Linked DNA regions of Homo sapiens: regions 2, 3 and 4 are each linked to region 1. The links are contacts of gene promoters, found by promoter capture Hi-C in human tissues and cell types (Jung and others, 2019). All regions are on one chromosome and are shown on one strand. The core of a region is centred on a gene start or on the middle of the fragment in contact, and the rest is flanking DNA. Distances in the headings are between cores, read along the strand shown.

The links. The method cuts DNA at HindIII sites, captures the fragments that hold promoters and counts their contacts. A contact is called where the count stands out against the background at its distance.
Region 2: a fragment that was not itself captured here is called in contact with the fragment with the promoter of EML6 in region 1 in 1 of the 25 tissues and cell types used here (spleen).
Region 3: a contact is called between a fragment that was not itself captured here and the fragment with the promoter of EML6 in region 1, in 2 of the 25 tissues and cell types used here (hippocampus and mesenchymal stem cells).
Region 4: a contact is called between a fragment that was not itself captured here and the fragment with the promoter of EML6 in region 1, in 2 of the 25 tissues and cell types used here (hippocampus and psoas muscle).

What each region holds. Positions count from the first base shown.
Region 1 is chr2:54,721,365-54,724,957 of GRCh38, reverse strand. EML6 (EMAP like 6) reads right to left here and starts at 1,296. Exons shown (of 42, transcript NM_001039753.4): 1 at 1,181-1,296; 2 at 1-409. RefSeq lists silencers at 93-242, 914-1,403 and an enhancer at 1,544-1,763. The HindIII fragment of the contact is 12,546 bases long and covers 1-3,593 here.
Region 2 is chr2:54,506,387-54,509,552 of GRCh38, reverse strand. All of the region lies in intron 1 of SPTBN1 (spectrin beta, non-erythrocytic 1), which reads right to left. It also overlaps the pseudogene C9orf85P1. Among named protein-coding and RNA genes, the nearest start is that of SPTBN1-AS1, 51 kb to the left of the region's middle. The HindIII fragment of the contact is 3,437 bases long and covers 69-3,166 here.
Region 3 is chr2:54,891,383-54,894,648 of GRCh38, reverse strand. EML6 (EMAP like 6) reads right to left here. Exons shown (of 42, transcript NM_001039753.4): 19 at 1,993-2,195. Among named protein-coding and RNA genes, the nearest start is that of EML6-AS1, 140 kb to the right of the region's middle. The HindIII fragment of the contact is 3,331 bases long and covers 337-3,266 here.
Region 4 is chr2:54,945,099-54,948,588 of GRCh38, reverse strand. The region is part of intron 28 of EML6 (EMAP like 6); the gene reads right to left. Among named protein-coding and RNA genes, the nearest start is that of RTN4, 100 kb to the left of the region's middle. The HindIII fragment of the contact is 3,016 bases long and covers 1-2,856 here.

The DNA.
Region 1 (3,593 bases), core at 47-2,546:
CGCTGATTTCCGCGGCGACACACAGGCACAGCCCAGCGGGCCGGCCGCCACCATCATCCGCTGCAGCCGCCGCAGACAAGCCGCCGCCGCCGGTGTGCGGCCGCCAGACCCCGCCGGGCGCCGGGCTCCCTCTACCCGGGCAAGGCGGCTCTGGGGGCGCCGGCACCGGCGCGCGCGCCTCACTGCACCTGCGGGCTCCGGCCCCCGGGAGAGGCTCTCGGGGGGGCCACCCCGCCTTTTACATCAGGAATCTGCATATCCCAACAGCGATCACCCAGTTCGCTCACTGAAGTTTGCGGTGCGCCGGGGCTTCGCGGCAGGCGGCGGGATTTATTCTGCGATAGCCTTGATTTGACAGGCAACCCGGGTGAGCTCTGCCATCGCCGTCTTTGGATCCGAAATTGACAGTCTATATCCAGGAAGCGAGAGCGAGGAAGAAAGAAACAGATTTTTCGCATAAGTCACCCAATCCAAGAAAATTATCCCCAAACTAAACCAAGTTGGGTATTTTTAAAAATTGTCCCCTACTCCCGCTTTCTCTCTCCAGTTCCATCTCCTTAATGATATGAAATATGCGTAAATGCTGCTGCCTGGCAGTTGCTGATGCGATTTGAAGGAACGCTTGCTGTTTCCCTAATAAGCGAGGGCGAATATGCAATGGTCATTTTTTAGATGCTCCAATTAGTTTTCATGTGTGTGTTTAATAATCATATCCTCCGTGAACCTTCTCTTCACCGAGAAAGCCATAAAGAACTTAGCAGCTCTCATTGATCAGCAACTCCAATCCGCATCATGAAAGATTGTCTTACTCGGAAGAAACGAGGCACTAGTGCAGTCGGAGGGAGTGCGCTACCTACAAACGCTCCTGGTCGAGGAGAAATCAAATAACAAGTGGCAAAAATCGTGTACTTCTCCCCAGAAACCTCTGCGCTAAACACCGGGTCCCACGGAATCCCGGGTCCTGCCCTGAGCCCAGCGTGGAGAGGGGTCGCCCGAGGGACCCGGGGGACAGCAACCCCCCACAGACGCACACGTCCCGGGGGTCGGCGCGCTGCGCGAGGGATGCCCGCCCTCAGGACTGTTCGGCCCGCGCGCACTGCCGCCCTGGCGGCGCCCTGCACTCCTCCCACTCTCGAACCAGCCTCGCCCGCGGAGCATCCGCGCGCTCTCTGCCTCTAACCTCTGCTGCCAGCGGACGCCACCGGCGCGTCCCGGATCCCGCGCGGGCGAGCGAGCGAAATCCTCTGCCTGCCCTCCCCTCCCCGCCTCCCGCACCCGGGGATGGACTTCGTCACTGGGGCGCCGCGGGAGACAGGTTCTTCCTCCAGCCGGGGCTCCGGGGGCGGGGCCACAACGCCGCGCTAGTGAACCTCAGCTGCCGGTTACTAGGCGAGATCTCGCCGCTTGGAAACAGCGACGCCCCGGAGGACTGGGGCCGCCCCCTCCCTCTGCCTGTCCCTGTGGCCTCTTCCCCCGACGCATCCTGGGAAGTGTAGTCCTCTCTGCGCCGGTTAGGGCGGACAGCGCGCGGAAGGGACCACAAGTCCCAGGATTCCGCGCGCCCAGAGGGAGTCGCAGCGAGACCTGTACCGGCGTCAGCGGAGCCTGCGGCTCTCGGGGTGAGGAGATCCCGGCTCACCAAGGACGATTGCCTGCCCACGCGGGCGTTCCCTTGTGACTGAGGCGGGAGCTGGCGTGCGTGGGTCTCTGTAGAGAAAAGCGGTGGAGTTGGAATGGAGACGGTCTCCCAGCCCACCACTGGAATTTCTCCTTCATCGGTCTCTGAGTGTTGCTGTAACCGACATCCTCACCATGCTGTAACTGACTCAAGCTTAAGTTTGTTTCCTACTTAAGTTTTCCTTTTCATTCACATGGATTTTAATTTGTTAAAGTGCAGTTCTGCCAAGTTTAAGAAAAATGCTGGGAATGTGAGCTCACTTCTGCCCTAAGAACCAGCGTCTTCCCATGACCTGCGTCCTAAATTAGAGGACTTGGGTATTTACAGATAACCGGAGGTTGGAAGCAGGAAGGTGCTCACGCCATGAACAGCTAACCTTGGCCTTCAAACGCAGAAGCTGGTGGCATTTCTCCTAAAACTGCCCGAGATGAACTATGAATCCACTGTGTTCTCAAGTAGCCTATTTCCAATTTAGGGCCATAGCTAGTCTTTGGAAAGAGATTTCAAAATCCCAGTGACTAAGAGGCTGCAAAAGGATGATGGATTGGACGTTTGGAACGTCCTTTCCCTCCCATGCTTTCAGTGTAATCGCTTACTCAGTTCATCTCCCTCAAGTTTTAAGACAACCCTCCGACCTGGTAGGAAAGCTCGAAAGAACTGGAAGTGCCAGAGTTTGGATGATTTGTTGCTGCCCGCAGTAATGAGGATTTGAATTGGTCTCATCTTTGTTTTTAAGGAAACAGAATCAACAAATAAGTGAGATGGCACTGTGCTAGGCAACAAGAACACTGCCAAAAACAAAAACACGGCCTGAGAAAGGTTTGAGATAGAAGCAAAAATATAGTTGATCAATGATGTCGTGCCATAAAACAGTGCCAAATGAATTATATAAAGACAGTAAGTTTTTGTTGTTCTTTTTGTTTTGTTTTGTTTTGAGACAAAACAGGCCGTTGCCCAGGCTAGAATATCGTGATCTTGGCTCACTGCAACCTCCGCCTCCTGGGTTCAAACGATTATCCTGCCTCAGCCTCCTGTGTAGCTGGGATTACAGATACGCACCACCACGCCCAGCTAATTTTTGTATTTTTAGTAGAGACAGGGTTTCGCCCTGTTGGCCAGGCTGGTCTCCAACTCCCGACCTCAGGTGTTCTGCCCGCCTCGGCTTCCCAAATTGCTGGGATTACAGGCATGAGCCACTGTGCCTGGCCAGTAAGTTCTATATAAGAATTCAGAAGAGGAAGAGTTTTTCCAGATAAAATACATCAGGAAAAGTTTCATGGAGGAACTAGGAAATATAGATAGAATTGAGATAAGTAAAGATAAATTGAAAGAGCGTTCTACATGCGTTTAGGGAATAAACAAAAGTGTAGATGCAGAAAAGTGGATTTAGAGAACACTAAAGAGAATACCCAGTTTGGTGCAAGGGAGAATTCATATAAGATCAAGAGGACACATGAAAGGTTAGATTGTAGATGGAGCTCAGCATAGGGGTTTGCGCTGTATCCTTAAAATAATGGAGTCATTGATTTTTTGAATAAAAATAAGGGAATAGCAATGAAAGCAGTAATCAAAGCATGAGGTATTAGAAGTCTGGGGTAGTGCTTGAGGCTGCGTTAGAGATAGTGGCAGTGGTCTAGAAAGGAAGAGACACTTTCCAGAGAAAATGTACAAATGTATTGAAAAGAAGTCTCTTAAATAGAAATGGATGGAACATATTCATTTCCTAAATTATCTTTAGTATAACTAATGACCCCCATGCTGTACCAGACTGTTAAATGAGTTGGAGGAGTAAGTCTGAGTCAGCCACTTACAATTGTAACCTTAGGCAAATCACTAAATCCTCTGATCTTTACTCTCCTCATTTAATAAAGTATAGCAGTACTCACCCCACAGGATAATTGTAAGAATGAAACAA
Region 2 (3,166 bases), core at 538-3,037, 220 kb after region 1:
GAACCAGATCAACAACTTGACCTTACTGTTTTAGGCTGGCCATCATGTCCCCGTGCAGCAGCTGCCGCTGCCCTAACACTTTTAGAGGCCCTCAAAATCACAAACTATGCTCAACTCACTCTCTATAGTTCTCATAACTTCCAAAATCTATTTTCTTCCTCACACCTGATGCATATACTTTCTGCTCCCCGGCTCCTTCAGCTGTACTCACTCTTTGTTGAGTCTCCCACAGTTACCATTGTTCCTGGCCCGGACTTCAATCCAGCCTCCCACACTATTCCGGATACATCTGACTCCCATGACTGTATCTCTCTGATCCACATGACATTCACTCCCTTTCTCCATGTTTCCTTCTTTCCTGTTCCTCACCCTGATCACACTTGGTTTATTGATGGCAGTTCCACCAGGCCTAATCGCCACTCACCAGCAAAGGCAGGCTATGCTATAGTATCTTCCACATCTATCACTGAGGCTACCGCTCTGCCCCCCTCCATTACCTCTCAGCAAGCTGAACTCACTGCCTTAACTTGAGCCCTCACTCTTGCAAAGGGACTACCCATCAATATTTATACTGACTCTAAATATGCCTTCCATATCCTGCACCACCATGCTGTTATATAGGCAGAAAGAAGTTTCCTCACTATGCAAGAGTCCTCCATCAATAATGCCTCTTTAATAAGAACTCTTCTCAAGGCTGCTTTACTTCCAAAGAAAGCCGGAGTCATTCACTGCAAAGGCCATCAAAAGGCTTCAGATCCCATTGCTCTGGACAACGCCTATGCTGATAAGATAGCTAAAAAAGCAGCTAGCGTTCCAACTTCTATCCCTCAGGGCAGTTTTCCTCCTTCTCATCTGGCCACTCCCACCTACTCCCTCGCTGAAACTTCCACCCATCTCTTCCCACACAAAGCAAATGGTTCTTGGACCAAAGAAAAATCTCCTTCCAGTCTCACAGGCCCATTCTATTCGTCATTTCATAACCTCTTCCATGTAGGTTGCAAGCCGCTAGCCCGCCTCTTAGAACCCGCTAGCCCACCTCTTAGAACCTCTCATTTCCTTTCCATCGCAAAAATCTATCCTCAAGGAAATCACTTTTCAGTGTTCCATCTGCTATTCTACTACTCCTCAAGAATTTCTCAGGCCCCCTCCCTTCCCCACACATCAAGCTCGGGGATTTGCCCCGCCCAGGACTGGCAAATTGACTTTACTCACATGCCTCGAGTCAGGAAACTAAAATACCTCTTGGTCTGGGTAGACACTTTCACTGGATGGGTAGAGGCCTTTCCCACAGGGTCTAAGAAGGCCACCGTGGTCATTTATTCCCTTCTGTCAGACATAGTTCCTCGGTTTGGCCTTCTCACCTCTATACAGTCCGATAACGGACCGGCCTTTACTAGTCAAATCACCCAAGCAGTTTCTCAGGCTGTTGGTATTCAGTGGCACCTGGTTTTTCCTCAAACTGCCACCCTTAAGTCTCTCTTTAAGTGGATAGAAGATCTTCAGTGGCAAGGTACCCTCCAATACTTTCACCCTGATGAAGTCCTATTCTTTACTTTTATACTTACTCTTATTCTCATTCCCGTTCTTATGCCACCCTCTACCTCTCCCCAGCTATCTCTATCACACTATCAATCTCAGTTACTCTCTCCTAGCCGTTTCTAATCCTTCTTTAACAAACAATTGCTGGCTTTGCATTTCTCTTTCTTCCAAAATCACAAAGGTCTCGACTTACTGCTAAAAAAAAAAAAAAGGGGACTCTATATTTTTAAATGAAGAGTGCTATTTTTACCTAAATCAATCTGGCCTGGTATATGACAACATTAAAAAAAACTCAAAGATAGAGCCTAAAAGCTTGCCAACCAAGCAAGTAATTACACTAACCCCCCTTGGACACTCTAATTAGATGTCCTGGGTCCTCCCAATTCTTAGTCCTTTTATACCTGTTTTTCTCCTTCTCTTATTCAGACCTTGTGTCTTCCATTTAGTTTCTCAATTCATCCAAAACCATATCCAGGCCATCACCAATCATTCTATACGACAAATGTTTCTTCTAACAACCCGACAATTATCACCCCTTACCACAAAATCTTCCTTCAGCTTCATCTCTCCCACACTAGGTTTCCATGTTGCCCCAGTCCTGCTCAAAGCAGCCCTGAGAAACATTGCCCATTATCTCTCCATACCACCCCCCAAAATTTTCCCCACCCCAACACTTTACCACTATTTTATTTTTCTTATTAATATAAGAAGACAGGAATGTCAGGCCTCTGAGCCCAAGCTAAGCCATCATATCCCCAGTGACCTGCACGTATACATCCAGATGGCCTGAAGCAACTGAAGATACACAAAAGAAGTGAAAATAGCCTTAACTGATAACATTCCACCATTGTGATTTGTTCCTGCCCCACCCTAACCGATCAATGTACTTTGTAATCTCCACCACCCTTAAGAAGGTTCTATATAATCTCCCCACCCTTGAGAATGTACTTTGTGAGATCCACCCCCTGCCCCCAAAACATTGCTCTTAACTCCACCGCCTATTCCAAAACCTGTAAGAACTAATGATAATCCCACCACCCTTTGCTGACTCCTTTTTTGGACTCAGCCTGCCTGCACCCAGGTGAAATAAACAGTCTTGTTGCTCAAAAAAAAAAAAAAGAGAGAGAACCAGATCAACCTAAACTTTACTTTCTCTGGAGAGACTCTTCTGAAACCCCTAGTCCCAGCCCAGGGCCTCTCCTGTTCTATGTTCCTACTGGTTTGTTGTTTTTTCATAGCACGCACTACGATGGTGTTTAAATAATTACCTGTGTATTTATTAAATGACTATCTTGCCTGAAAGTATACTGTACTCTCCAAGAACTATTGGGTATTTCTCTCTTTTTCATCAATGTATCCCTAAATATAGTGTCTAGCTCCCAGACAACAATACACAAATGTTTAATGAACAAACTTTATACTTAAAATTTTCTCAGCTTCGAAGAGTATTAGAAGCACTTTCCCTACCAATTCCTCTACTATCAAGAAGAAAAAATTACTCAGTTCATCAAGTGGTAAATTTTTTCAAATGTAAACTATAAGTAGAAAAAAAAAAACCAAACAGATAAGCTCTTGTAGATTGAGTCATCTATATTTTTTAAATTATATTTACATGAGAATTTTTAAG
Region 3 (3,266 bases), core at 753-3,252, 170 kb before region 1:
CAAGGATGGCTCTGCTTGTGCCCAGTCTCCCAACCAGAATGTGGTTCCTACAGAATGGAACCAGCCTCAAAACCTAGCAGAGTTTCTGGTATCTCACATACTCTGACCAAATGGATTGAAGTTAACATCACAGTTTAAAATTATTGTTAAACATTTAAAAATAAAAGTCATGTCCAGAAGAAAACATCATTATTTATTAAGAGTAGCTTAGGTACTTTATATAATGAAACGATCCTATTTCATTCAATAGACACAATTTCCATAATTAAAATCCAGATTAATTTTTACAAAAACCTGGAAAGTAAAAAGCTTAACATATTGGATATTTTTTACTGAACAGTGATCTTTATTCCTGTTCTAAGCTTATAATTTTTTGGCTGTACTAGTTTTCCTTTCTGGTAATTTATTATATATACCAACTGTTCTTAGAGGTTTTTTTTTTTTTCTAAGAAAAAAGCTGAGTAATTCACTGCTTTCTTAGCAACTTTTAATTTAATGCATTTTTATGAAGTTTACAAAGAAATAATATTTCCAAGTGTATAACACTAAATATCCTTATTCTTATATAGAATTTGTACCCAGGAAAATTCAATCCCCAAATTAAATTAAAATGCAATATATTATATTGTGATATCCTTGTCTTTTCTCATGATTTTGCAGCTTAATTTACCAAACAACAAGAGCTTAAACAAGTTACACCATATCTACTTCTGGGCCTACAGAAATTCTTTCTTCTTCTTTAATCTTTTCTAATACTTGCAGTTTAACCAAAAACATATGTACCAATAAAAAAACAAAACAAAACAAAACAACACCTTTGCCAGCAAAACAACCGTTACAGTTGCATACCTAACAAGAACCTACTTTTGTAGTAGAATCAACACATTTGCCTAAGGACAGGTAAAAGAAAATTGAGACATGGGTTAGGAGTAGTAGGTGGCTTCAACTGGAGGTCAGAGGGCACAGATGAAGTGGTACTACCAGCAACCTGGAAATAACTGAAAAGAAGTTGATATTTGCTGGCAAGTTGATTGAATAAAGTGTTTTAAAACACTGAAGGTGCTATGGTTTAAATATTAGCCCCCTCCAAAACTCATGTTGAAATTTAACTGCCTCTGTAACAGTACTAAGATGTGGGAACTTTCAGAGTTGACTAGACCATGAGGGGTCTGCCCTCATGAATGGATTAATGCCATTATTGTAGGAGTGGGTTCATTACTAAAGGATGATTTCGGACCCTCCCACTCTTATTGGCCCTTCAGCCATTGGGTAACACAGCAAGAAGGCCCTTCCCTGTTGCAGCCCCTTACTCTTGGACTTCCCAGCCTCCAGAACTGTGAGCCAATAAACTTCTGTTCATTATAAAGTACCTAGTCTCAGAAATTCTGTTACAGCAGCAAAAACAGACTGAGAGAAGGTAAGTGTAATCTTTGTAGAGGGACACTGCAAGGCAAGTAGACAGACCAGGGCAATTATGATGAGCTTGAATTGTAATATGGCCAATGAACAGCCTTCACTCTAACACTCTTGTTAAAGCTGAGCCTTTCTACACAGGAGCAAGTTGGTTATGGATGCAAATTTATCGTAGCAAATGGACGTCTGGAACAATAATGTAACCATTTGGTACTTTCAGGTCTCTGCCCATTGTGTCACCAAGGAGGAAGACAATGCTGAAGTATTTCTCAGGACTCTTCTGCTGCTAAGTGTCCACATTTATCCTGGCACTTCTTAAGGGACTCTCATGAGTGGGCGCCAGGAAGAGCATGTGTGGAAAAAGTGCAGAGAAGTTGCATATAAAGAAACAACTGTAAACGAAATTATAAAAATATCTTTGCTTTCCTCCCTATTGTCTCTTGACTGAGCTTTATGACAACTACTTCCTAATTCAGACAGGCCTGTTTTAGATACAGGCATCCTCTTGGGCCATCCTAAGACTACCTTATAATTTTAGAAGGCTGATGAGGAAAATGAATGCTGATACACAGGCCATACCTTATCCAGTGCATACATAGCAAACACAGGCCCATCATGAGCTTTCACTGTCTTCAGTAGTAGAATGTCTTTCCAAATAAAAATATCTCCAGTAGCTGCTCCTGAGAACACTAGATCTTCCATTCGTCCGTAAGAAACACACATCATTGTTTCCAATTTTCCAACGCTTCCAAAAGTTCCTCTTTTAGAAGTGAAGCCCCCACCTAGAGTGGACCAAGAACAGTTATTACTTTATAAAATCTGGCACTTCCTATAAGCATGTAGAAGGACTACTTCCATGAGAAACCTGGTGTCTCTCATTAGGTATTTATGTAAAGATGTCTAAAAGTGACAGAGAACATCATGAACAAAAATATTCTAAGAATATTTCTCATTTATTCATTAACTCAGTGTTTACTGAATCCCTACATGTGGTAAGTGCAGCGCTCACTGTTGGGATATGAAGATGAAAAGAGGGTTCCTGTATTCAAGGAACTCAGAGTCTGGCTGGAGAGAGCAATCAATATGCATCTCAGTCCAAGACATGCGTCTAACTGAGGCTCAGCACAAGTTCTGTGTCAGCCAAGAGAAAGAGTGACTAAGTGCCTGAAGGAGCAAGCAAAGTCTTCATGAATGCTGACCAAAAACGATAAAAATAGTACTGACTGTAAATGTAAAATATAAGCATGTTATATATGCTCTGCTTATTTATAACAGCTATTTTGGGGTGAGAAAAAAGAATTGTTTTGTAGGAAAAGGTAGTATACGGGACAAGCCATTAGATTTGTCCCTTACACATTCACATTTCCCCACACTCCCTGTCACTGAGAAACCCAGCTTTATTCAAGACAGCTACACACAGGCTGGCTCTCCAGACATACTGGGTGGCATTACCTTCTTTTAAAAGCAAAATGCACTGGAACAGAACCTTATTCACATTTTGTGCATAATAAGTTAGGGCTTGGCACCAAAGCTGATACTAAGAATTCAGATTCAATTGTATTAAGTCTGACTTATTAGTGAGAAGAATGAGATATCCTCTATGTTTTCTCATGCTTATTTACTCATCATTATTATCAACATTAAATCCACCAATATTTATTGGACCACCTATTTGTGGGCAGACTCAGGGTTTAATTCAGGTTTAAATTCAGTAATAGATAAATAAAGGAACCATCCAAATAGATAAAATTTTATTCACTCAACCAAAATGATTATTTTATTTCCTGTGCAGTAGTCTAACATAATTACTGCTTTCAGAACAGATGACTAAATATAAAAATGATTATTTTCAC
Region 4 (3,490 bases), core at 99-2,598, 220 kb before region 1:
ATGTGGGCTTGAAACAAGAGGGGCTTGGTTCAAAACCAAGGAGAAGCCTGACCATGAGGGGCGGGAGGCCACATTTCCTGGACTTGCTGACCTTTTTCAGACAGGGATGTGCTCATGTTGTTCAGAATTAAGTTGTCGATGGCCATGGTGTGGCGTGAAGTGGCACTTACAAGCCAGGCTGCGGAAAGGGCCCTAAGGACCACAGGCCAAGTGCCTAGGTCGGCCTCACTTCTCAGACAGGCAGGCAGGAAGCAGAGGGACAGGAGACAGACAGCACTCCCGCCTCCCACTCCGCCCTCGCCTCAGGACTCGGGTCTGCATTCAGCTGCTACCACACCAAAGGTTGCTTTTCCCGCCTCCGTTTTGGGGTCTGGGGCCTCCAAATTTAATGAAGAGATTTTATAATGTGTAAGCCCTAATGGAATCCTAGAGGAGTACGCCAGTTCTTGGTGACGTGGGGTTTCCTTAAATCAGATTTCTCTATGGATGGGTCGAGAAAGAACTGTACCAGCTCCCACCGCATGTTCCAAAGTAATTAGTTATTGCTCCCGGGATATGCAAAGAGAAGGATTACCTTGATCCCCTTGAAAGCAGCAAACAAAGCCAAGTGAGAAACTTAGTACAGTTTAGAGCCGCATTAGCAACCACCTCATTCATGCACAAGCATTTTCCAAGTGAACAGACATTCCTGTGTGGCACACACCATGCTTCCCCAGCATGCCAGCAAAGAACTAAAACAGAAATGAAAGAGTGCACCAGTCTACAAATTCAGAAAGCTCATACCCTGGCGTCTCTGGGCAAACTCTGCACTAAAGCGCCTACAGAATAGGGAGAGAAAAGGAAGCTTTGTCAATGCTTCCCGCACACTCTCCGTGACTTTACGAATGCGCCCGGGGACTCTGCTTAGAGTGTGCTGGGGAGAAACTTGCTGTCAGAAAAACAATGACATCTTCCTGGATGTCGTGGGGAGTTATGTACAATGGATACTTTGTTTCCAAATCAAGTTCAACTCATAATTTAGCCTAATAATTCCCAGTGTTTCTTGGTAGGTCAGCCTGCCTGCTCGAATGGCTTGCGGGGGTTCTTTTTGTGTGCAGGGGAAGACAGGGTACCTTTATTTTCTCAGAAACTCTTCAATCAAAACACGTTATGTAATCATAAGTGATAATTGGACCAAACGGTATTATAATCACCACTGAAGAATGGGTAGACAGCACATCTCTGCAAAACGACACCCCCGGCTGACATCATCGCCACCAAATTGAGCAAAATCGGGAGACTGGGGGCATGCCAGTTCTCACAATTAGACACTTCCTTCACATTAATTATCGCTTCCCAGGACATCTGCTCTTTCTTCTGTTTTAGTGGGACTTTCAAATGAAATCCGTGGGTTTCTTCTTTCACCTAAGAACGTTTAAGTGTATGACAAAAGCAAGCCAGGGGCTATGAGGAGAGCAAGAGGACACTGGAACTATGGCATGGCTCATAAGGCATTATTTGAGGATAAACACAGGGCTCGATTTCAGGGGACACACAGGTTGTATAATATGTAATATATTATACAGTGAATATAGAGTATGCGTACAAGCACAAACACCGTGTATTTATATATACAGGAGATTGTATATATATACACAGACGCAATCCGATGCTTTTTTTTTTCACCTTGATTTTCAGAAAAAAACCGAAAGGTAAAGCAATCTCAATGTTTCTTTCTCATTTCGCAAGCATATGTTTACAGCTGTATTGCTTCAAAACTGAAGATGAGAGGAGCAAGGGGAAGAAACCTGCATTGTGGCAAATTCAGCGGATTTTAAGTATTGACCCTTCGCGGTTGTGGATTCTGCGTGAACACTTAGTACTGGATGTTCACCAAACACCTGTGTTTGTCTCCAGAGCGGTGTGAATACTTACTTGACAATTCCCTGCCTCCAAAGGAAAGCAAGTTAAAACACAATACAAGTATTAAAAGCTTCTTTCCAGGCATCTATAAACAGTGTTCATAACATCAGATGTGGGAGGGACTGCCAGAGACTTCACACGTAGCCAAACACTGGAGGTTTAACAGTTTTCCGTGGATCTAAATCCTTCTAGATTCAGATTCCATCAGAAATGGGACTCTGAAAAGCTTTGCTGAGGTGGGAAGGAGTGGAGGCATGAGGACATTCACTCACTTTCAGTCCAATCAGCTCATTAGAGTTGGTCATTCCCAGCTGGCACAGGACAGGAGTGCGAGGAAGGCTGTGGGCACAACCCGGCATTGGCAGGGAGACCCAGTGGGGCCAAGATCTGGGAAGGTGAGGGGGTGAGAGACTGGAGGTGGGAGGAGCAGAGACACAAAGGGGCCTGGTGGGGCAAGTAGGCTTTGAGGAGAATGGGCAGGGGGGCAGGGTCAGGGAACAAAGGAGAAAGAGCTTCCATTGGCAAGAAATTTAAGGAGGGAGCCTGGCAAGACAGCAAACAAACTGGATAATCAGGAGAGAGGGTGGCACACAGGCCGAAGCTCTGGAGAGCAGGAGAAGCCTGCCAAGAAGACAGAGTGAAGGCAGGAAGCCCAGGGAGAGGCTGTGAACTCCAGCCTGGGGCTTGGTGTTGAGTAACAAGTCGGCCCTGCTCTTCAGTGCCTGTGGGGAGAGTCACAACCCTGTACCCCCTGTGGAAACAGTTGGCACATTCTGTGGGCAGGGCAGGATCATGGGAAGGCCAATTCCTGCTGTCATCCCACTGCCCAGCGCTGGGCTGCTGAAGAGAAAGCTTAGACTCAACTAAAGATGTGGGGAGTCTTATCCTGACACGGGCTCTTGCCCTGCACAGACCCGCAAGGCAGGCCAATGCCTGGGTACTTGTCCCTCCTTTCCCCCTCCCCAAGGCACTGGGCTGACAGAGCAAGAGGTGGAGCAGAGCACACAATGACCTGAAATGTGTAAGAGCATTCAGGGCCAAAGTGCTCAGGGAAGCTTCTGAAACCACTGAGGTCACGAGTCAGTTGCAACCCAAGATGAGTACAACATGAGAGCCAACTGGGGAGTGAGGCTTGGACAGCCTGTGAGAAACCAAGTCGTTCCAACCAGTTTCTATAAAGAGGGGTGTGGGTGTGGGTGTGAGTGTGGGGAAACTCAGTTCCAACTAGCCAAGAAATTCAAGTTTGAAGTTGTTTTGAGTCGTGTTCATCAGACAATGTTCAAAGTGTCCTTGGAGGAAACAGCTTTCTTCAGCTTCCAAAATGTGGCATAAAATGCTCCAATGGTTTTAGAATGTCTTGGGAAATCCAAAGGGGAGGGGGAGGGGAGAGAGAAGGGGGAGGCAGAGAGAGAGGGGAGAGAGAAGGGGGAGGGAGAGAGAGAGGGGAGAGAGAAGGGGGAGGGAGAGAGAGAAGGGAGAGAGAAGGGGGAGGGGAGAGAGGGGAGGGGGAAAGAGGGGAGGGGGAGGAGGGGTAGGGAGGGATGAGGGAGGGAGGAATGGGATGGGAGGAGAGAGGGAGGAGTGGGAG